2 separate regions of the Homo sapiens genome follow, and region 2 is linked to region 1. The links are contacts of gene promoters, found by promoter capture Hi-C in human tissues and cell types (Jung and others, 2019). All regions are on one chromosome and are shown on one strand. Each heading gives the region's core, a stretch centred on a gene start or on the middle of the fragment in contact. The rest is flanking DNA. Distances are from core to core; before and after follow the strand shown.

Region 1 (4,189 bases), core at 799-3,298:
GTCACCCATGATTTCACTTACACTGTCTTTTCAGTGCTATGAAGAGCTATAATGAGCCCTGAAAATAACAAGCACAAAATACAATGATCTACTTGGTTTTCTCAGTAACTGTTTCTCTCTTTTCTAGAAAGGCAATTCGAAGGCAAATTATTGGTAACTTATCTGAAAATAACATGACCCGTTCTGAAATAACATAAATGACTATTTACCAAGTTGGACAGATGATTTCATGAATTGTTAGCTCTTCTGTGCAAAGGCAGGCAGGAATGAGAGTCAGCTGTGTTAACCCTTTGCTTTCCTTTGAGTCAAACAGTTTGTATGAACAAACAGGGCAGTCATCCACTCTCCCAGCTCTATTTGCTGTCTGCCTTCAGCAAGTCACTTTATCATTCCTCCACTCTGTTTCTCCACCTGGAAAATCTGGAATATCATACCTATAACTCCTTTTTTTTTCGAAGACTGTTGAGATCTTTAGAAGAAATACATTCTACACTTTCAAAGATTTATGACAGTATTTTGTTTTTAGCTGCCTACCTAAAGAAAGGGAATGAACTGGAGTTGTTGAAGCAATAAGGATATGCCATTTGAGGTTAGACTGTGGTTAGCAGGAACCAACTGCTAAACGTGGTTTTGTTTTGTATTTCCTTTGTCAATTTCAGCTGATTTCAGGCAGGCCCATTCTGAGAATAAGGCTGCATTTCACAATTCCTGTAATGTGCCCACGTAAGAAAGAAGGCAGGTAGTCTGTTTGGTGATAGTATATTTCAAGAACTAATTGTTATTTCCTGTGAATTTGCAACCCAATGTGCTGTGAGTTGAGTTGGAACTAGAATATCAAATACCAAATAGCATACAAAAGGGATAACACTGCAAAAAAAAAATTCAAGTCAAAAATCAAAACAGAGCTCAGAGATTTCAGAAGCAATGGCTTCTTGTCAAGAATAACTGTCATTAAAATTTCCATAAGCACCAGTGAAATTGATTTTGGGGAAAAGTCTAAGGGAGGGTCTGTTTTATAAGACACACTGAAACTTTATTTTATTCTGAATTTCCCCAGCCAAGTTTGTAAGATCTCAGATTTTTCTTGGGCCCTTTCCCTGCCAAGGGGCCAAAGGTTTATCTCTATTGACACATACAGATAAAAAATTTTCATCCAGGAACCTCTATCAGCAGAGTCTGAATAGTCGTCTTTGGCTGGTGAATCACACTAAGGGAGTCTCAGTCCTGAGATGATCAGTGGTGAGAAGTTCAAAAAATAATGAAAAGAGCAAGCACTTAGGCGTCACAATACGCTTCTGGTATAACGCACCAAGCCGATGGAGCACAAGAATTGGTCTGGCGTCATTGTTTTATGTTCTCTGGATGTTGAAGAGTCTGATTTGCATTAGAAACCTCTGCATTCAATAAACAAAAATCAGGATAATAATGACCAAAGTACTATTTGGAACAGAAAACAAATTCAAGCAATGGGTGTTTTGCACTGAATTCATTCAAGATTTTATTAGTTAAGCTCTCACTTAGGTTATTAGGCTCAGCTTGCTTTTTATTTCACTGGCCTCAGTTACTGCAAACAAAAGGAGCCTGGTGTGTGTGTGTGTGTGTGTGTGTGTGTGTGTGTAAGCGCACGTGTATGAGAATGTCAGACATATCACACACAGGCTTTCTACATTCTTCACATTGGAAACCCATCAGCAAAAGGAAGAAGATCTGAAGGGAATGAGTGTTTTTTTTTTGTTTTTTGTTTTTTTCTGGTTTAGGGGATGGAGGGAGAATTTCTCTACATAAACAAGAAGGTTAGAATTGGAAGTCTGCTAAAAAAAATGTTAGAGCTGACCACAGGGTTGTAAATCCACTGACTGGAAGGAGGAAAAGAGAAACATTGCAAGCGACTGAAGTGTGTGGTGTGGCTGCAATGTTTGTGGGTTAGATGAGAAACAAGCGCTGAGTGAAACAGAGAAGGGGGGTGGCTGGTGTGATTTGTTTGGTGTTCAGAGCCAATAGAAATCCCAGACTCTGATAATATCCCCATGCAGCGCCGAGAGGATTCAGAGCTAAGTCTCCGGGCTCCTTTCACATCTGCAGGAGCAGCCAGCCTGGGACCGCGCGGCGCGGGGCGCGCTCTCGCCTCTCCTGCACCCTCAGCCGGCGCGCTTCTCTTATGGGCGTCTGCTGCAGTCTGGCTGCGGTCGAACTGAAAGCGGCGGCGGGAGACCAAACTTAGACCCCGCTGTGGACTAGAGAACTCAGAGAAGGCAGAGGGAGAGGGAGAGAGAGAGAGAGAAGGGACCCGAGGAGGAGGCTTCCATCACGTCATTGCAGGTACGCAGCTTGTCACGACTAACGTGACACAGACACGGTTTCTGATTTCTACCTTCACCAGGCACTTAGAATGAATTGACGTTGTTTGTTCCGTGGCTGGTCAGGACCGAAAGCCCTGAGTGGACGTCTCGCCGGTTTCACCCCGGGTAATTCAAGCTGTTGGCGTGTGTCTGGGGGCCACAAGGTTTATTCACCTATTGAATTATGCGTGGGTGTAACATAAGGACCTTCAAACTTGACCGTGATCGCTCTTTCTTTCTCTTTTAAATAACGTCAATACCAATATGTTGTCATCCCACCAATAAATACCTCTTGGTGACCGCCATTCTAATCATGACTATAGCGAGGCAAACACCATCCAATTGTTAGAAAGCGGGCTACGAACCTCTCCCACCTACCTACCAGGTTAATATCCTCCCTACAGGAATAGGAACCACAGCGGACTTCGGCAGAGTTTTGATTTTTTAAAGCATATGGCCAAGGTGCACCCGCCTCATGAGGGAAATATCACTATTATCACTACGCTGTGGTTGAAGGAGAAGAGAGAAGGGAGGTAGTTATTTTTTAACGTGATTGTCAGTGATCCTTCCTGTGTACCTGACTTATTTCTACATTGTCTTACGAGTTTAAAAATGCATTTGTATTCTGCACGCCAGGCACGTTCAGTTCCAGGATCTCACATATTACTACATTAAAAAGTCATGAATTGGAACTATCTAGTAGATGTGATAGTTGTAAGAAAATATTGATGTTTGATTTTATTTTATTTGATCCTAAAACTCATAAACTTCTATTTCTTTTTTTTTTTTATTTTGAGGTGTGGGTTTTGTTAAAAAAATCTATTTCCTGAGATTTTATCATGTTTGATTTGAAATTTTAAAGATAGTTATATAACTCCCCACCCCTTGATGACTTGTGATTAAATTAGCATTGCTTAATGAGTTCAGTCTTTCCTGGGAAAAGCCAGAGGGGACTGCAAGAAGTCAGTTAAAAAATTGGTCTTGCTTTGCAGTCTTCAAGGGCTGGCTGGTATTCATGTGGCTCTGAATCCCTATGAAAAGCGCTTTTTCTGCAGTGGAACAGATTGGGACTCCAGTACAGCCAGAGAATGGCTCTGCAGCAGGTGCAGGGGCAATCAAATACCTTACCTTTCGTCTAAACAGCACTCTTCCCAGTGGAGTCTTAGTCGATCATATCCAAACCATTCACTGATAATTCGCAATCGACTCACCATTCAGCCGTGCTTAGCTTTCAAGGTAGCCTTTGTCCCAAGACATGTGCCCGACCAAGGAAGATAAGAAAGTTATAAGAAAGGTATTTGTGTTGTATATCACAGTGGAGAATTTATATCGACCTTTTTTTGTTTGTTTGTTTTTTGTTTCTTATCAGATGAACATGTTCTTTCTGTCATTAAAGGAAATGCATGCTTAGCTCTACCATAGAGTCAGGAAAACTTCATAGTTTTTGCCCATCGACTGATCTGAATGATTTAACTGGGTGCTTTTTGAAATCGTGTCAAAGTATAGACATGGCAAGTGAATATTATATTTGGGAGAAGGCATTTTAACTTTATAGATAAATTTTTTTTCCTTTTACATCAGAAAGAAACTGTAAAGAACTGATCTGTGCAAATAAATATAAGTTAATCGACCCAACTACATTCTATTGGTAAAGAGTTGTTTTGTATGATTGTGAGCATTTGTCAATCTTTTATAAATAAAATAGCTGCAATAAGTTGGGACCTATTTCTGTCTTATCTTTCTAACTCTAAAGCAATGTTGGGTGTGTTGGTAGCAACTTTGTGAGTGTGAGACGGATTATATTCACTTTGTATAGACTAGGAGACACTGATGGCTTTTCAAAGATAAAT
Region 2 (4,171 bases), core at 1,072-3,571, 61 kb after region 1:
GCTTAGCTTTCCACACTCAGACTAGCTTCCCCTTGTAAGCAATAGAATGATAAGGCTGGAAATACCTTTCTTCTGCTCATGCTAACGCTCTCGATAAAACCCGTTGACTTTGCATAGCTTCACCCGATGTCTGAAAAGACCAGCTGTCTCACTTTTAATTCTGGGTTTTCTTTCAAAGTCTTCGTGATTTCTGATAGAATTCTGATGTCCCTGATCAAAGCATGCTGAGATCAGTTTGCCATATACAATTTCCAATACAGAGTTTCTGCCAGAAATACCACTGAATTCCTTTCTTAAAAAGATATTTTCCTGGTACTTCAGGCAAGTAATGTAAAAGAAAGGGGATGAAAGGCTTAAAATGAGATTAAGAGCCTTCAGATATTTAAGATGTGATCAACTACTCTTAATATTTATGGAACACTACACAAGAGAAGAAGAGCTTAATAATTAGAAAGAATGTTTTAATGTTTTATCACCTTACAGCATGTTTCAAAAACTTTCAAGTACAGCATCTTCTAAGATGCATCCCCGCACCAAAATCGGTTAGAAGGACATTATCATTCTGCATTTATACCTAATGAATCTGAGGTTCAGAAAGGCTGAGTCTTGCATTCGCCTCTAGACAGCAGGTCTGCAAGACCAGATCTCCTGACACCTGCCCTAAAGCTTTTCTTGCTCCAGCAAAAACTGCCTTTCAATTTAAAACGATTTTAGAGATAGGGTCTTGCTCTGCTGGAGTGCAGTGGCCCGATCACAGCTCGCTGTAATCTCAAACTCTTGGGCTCAGGCGGTCCTCCCATCTCAGCTTCCCAAGCAGCTAGGACTGTAGCATATACCACCATGGCTGGCTAATTTTTACTTGTTTACTTTTTAATTTTTTTGTACAGACCACATCACTCTATGTTGTCCAGGCTGGTCTCAAACTCCTGGCCTTAAGCGACCCCCCCACCTCAGCCTCCCAAAGCACTGGGATTACAGGCACAAGCCTCCGTGCCCAGCCAAAACTGTCTTTCTATATAGGGAAATGTGTTTTTTAGAAAATGAAAGCTCCCTAAAAACTGGATATGACTTTCAAAGAAAACAATAAGAAATTCCTTTAGTTGAGTGTCTTTGATTTAGCTGATTACTGAAGGCAGAGGACTGAATTTGGTATCATCTCACCATCACTTATACCCAAGGATCGTAATATTACTGCTACAAGAAAAATCTGTGTTCTCTATGGAAGGTCATCCAGTATATGAAGTATGTAGAGTAAGAGAAATTTATGAGAGACACTGTGGTTCAATGGAGAATGTTGGCTTCATAGTCCTGGGCTATTCACTAAAATTAGGTGTAATCTTAGATACACCCTCTTATTTGCAGAATTTACACTCCCTTTCTATAAAATTTGTAAGGAAGGTTGGCATAATCTCTAGGATCCCTTCTTTCTTGAAGAAACTATGACTTTCTGAGGTTCCTCCTCCCTTCTCCATTAATTCAACACATTTTTGTCCTCAATATCCTCACTGAAAGCCAGCCTCAGCATTTAAGAAGGCAAAAAGAAAGAAAATAAACAGAAGATCTTATTTCTGTGAGGTTTTTCATTCTTATTTGTGCTTACATTTTAAGTGTACCTCATTCAATAGTTCATTTAGAAAATAGGTAAACTAAAAAAAAAAAAAGTAAACTAGACCAGGCATGGTGGCTCATGCCTGAAGTCTCGGCACTTTGGGAGGCCAAGGTCAGGAGTTAGAGACCAGCCTGGCCAACATGTGAAACCCCGTCTCTACTACAAATACAAAAATTAGCCCAGTGTGGTGGCATGTGCCTGTAGTCCCAGCTACTCAGGAGGCTGAGGCAGGAGAACTGCTTGAACCCAGGAGGCGAAAGTTGCAGTGGGCCGAGATTGCGCCATTGCACATCAGCCTGGGTGACAGAGCAAGACTCCATCTCAAAAAAATAAAAACAAAACAAAAAAAAACACAAGGTAAACCTATTATACTGAAAATGCGTAGTTTTCACTGAACTCAGTTTCCATGCAAATCAATTTTTGTTTTCAGATGTCAGGGCTTTGAGATCCACAGTCATTCCATTCCCAAGAACCAGTGTTTCATCTTACTTTGAACCCTCATGGAGAAGATCCAAGTGCAGAGGCTATTTCAGTACTCAAGTAGACTCTGTGCTTGGATCAGCTCCACAGAAAGCATGGGGAAGATGAGAAACCAGCTCAATTTCAGAATAAAACAGTATAAATCAAATTTAAGAACATCCAGAGATATTTAGCCCAGGATAGAAAACTTTAAATGAGTTCTTTTAGGCCATAAAAGATTCTTTTTTCAAAATTATTCCTTTTAATTCCAAGTTTCCATCCTAACTGGTCTTCATGATTTTGCTACAGTAATTGCAATCTGTCTAAATAACGAAGGGTGTATTTTAAAGGATGTAGGCTGAGGATGTTTGACAATGTCCATTTGATTGGATATGTCAGCACAATATTTGCTTTTGATCATTCGTAATAGCAATATTCAATGAAAGACATTTTGAATTAGTCAACTTGTAACAAAAATATTTACATCTTTTCAGACTGTCTCAACAGCTCAGTAGCCAATGTGAATATAGAAAAGGAAATGTCATTATAAAGCAAAAAATCAGAGTCTAAATTGACTACTGAAGATACTTAGTAGAGTTCTATTTCCACCTGTCATTTTTAATGCAAAACAACTGATGCTACATTGTGTCCTATTCAGTTTCCCCACTACTCCCCAAGTACCCCGGCACAGAATCTGATCATTTTACCTTTTGTTATGCTATCCTCCATCCTGGGTCACACTCACATTCACTGAGTCTTCTGAGCATTGTTGGAGAAAAGCAGGACATTGTGCCAGGAGTTTGTTTGTTTGTTTGTTTGTTTGTTTTAACAAATCATTAATCTGTAAATCCGCCTGAGTTAATTGGGGGTTTCGGCAAATGGCTAGTTCCCCTAGTAATCAGTGCCCCTGGCTGGGCGCGGTGGCTCACACCTGTAATCCCAGCACTTTGGGAGGCCGAGGCGGGTGGATCACCTGAGGTGGGGAGTTTGAGACCAGCCTTACCAACATGGAGAAACTCCGTCTCCACTAAAAATACAAAATTGGCCGGGCATGGTGGCCCATGCTTGTAATCCCAGCTACTTGGGAGGCTATGGCAGGGGAATCGCTTGAACCCGGGAGGCGGGAGATTGTGGTGAGCAGAGATCCCGCCATTGCACTCCAGTCTGGGCAACAAGAGCGAAACTCCGTCTTAAAAAAAATAAAATAAATAAAAACAATCGGTGCCCCTGACATGGCATTCCCTCGAATAAATAATAGAAGCTTTTGACTTCTTCCTCCATCCTTTCTACTCCTATTTGCCTCATCCATGGTAGAAGCAGGTGCCGGAACCGGCTGAACAGTCTATGCCCCACCTCATGGCTCTAATTCATCCCTTAATCATTCCTTATCTTGCCTACAGAGTCTGTTCTAGGTGATTCCACTCCTGATGGCCACACTGCTTTTCATACATGGAGATCTGTACCTTCCCCTTTCTGCCTTGCCAACTCTGTGTGACACAGAGCCACATCTTTCTCACTGTCTCCAAGCACATCACCGTAGCTTCAGGGATCTCTCATTCTTCAGTGTTATCTCAGAGAAGAAGCTGTAGCTCCTCTTCTCCAAGACCAAGGCCTTTCCAGATGTCTCAGTTCTGTGGAACCCCACCTTCTTTTAAATTCTACACTTTCAGATGCACCGGTTTTTTTGTTGTGTCTTTAATATTTGATTCTGTATTGGGTTTTACCTTGTAAATCTGCTCAAACCTTCTATCTAAAAACAAAAAGTCCCTTTCCTTAGCTCTGCTGGGATTTATCTCTTTTTAGGTTAACCAATTAGTTGATGTATTATTTTTACCCTACTCCTGTTCTCTATCTGCACACTTTTTGCTTTCTTTCTTTTCTTTTTTTTTTTTTTGAGATGGAGTTTCTCTCTTGTTGCCCAGGCTAGAGTGTAATGGTGTGATCTTGGCTCACCGCAACCTCCGCCTCCCAGGTTCAAGCAATTCTCCTGCCTCGGCCTCTCGAATAGCTGGGATTAGAGGCATGTGCCACCACACCTGGCTAATTTTTGTATTTTTAGTAGAGATGGGGTTTCTCCATGTTGGCCGGGCTGGTTTTGAACTC

The links. Contacts are between HindIII fragments. The study calls those that stand out against the background at their distance.
Region 2: a contact is called between a fragment that was not itself captured here and the fragment with the promoter of GREM2 in region 1, in 2 of the 25 tissues and cell types used here (H1 embryonic stem cells and adrenal gland).

Annotation. Positions count from the first base shown.
Region 1 is chr1:240,610,014-240,614,202 of GRCh38, reverse strand. GREM2 (gremlin 2, DAN family BMP antagonist) reads left to right here and starts at 2,048. Exons shown (of 2, transcript NM_022469.4): 1 at 2,048-2,319. The HindIII fragment of the contact is 18,584 bases long and covers 1-4,189 here.
Region 2 is chr1:240,549,128-240,553,298 of GRCh38, reverse strand. All of the region lies in intron 1 of GREM2 (gremlin 2, DAN family BMP antagonist), which reads left to right. Among named protein-coding and RNA genes, the nearest start is that of GREM2, 61 kb to the left of the region's middle. The HindIII fragment of the contact is 4,298 bases long and covers 173-4,171 here.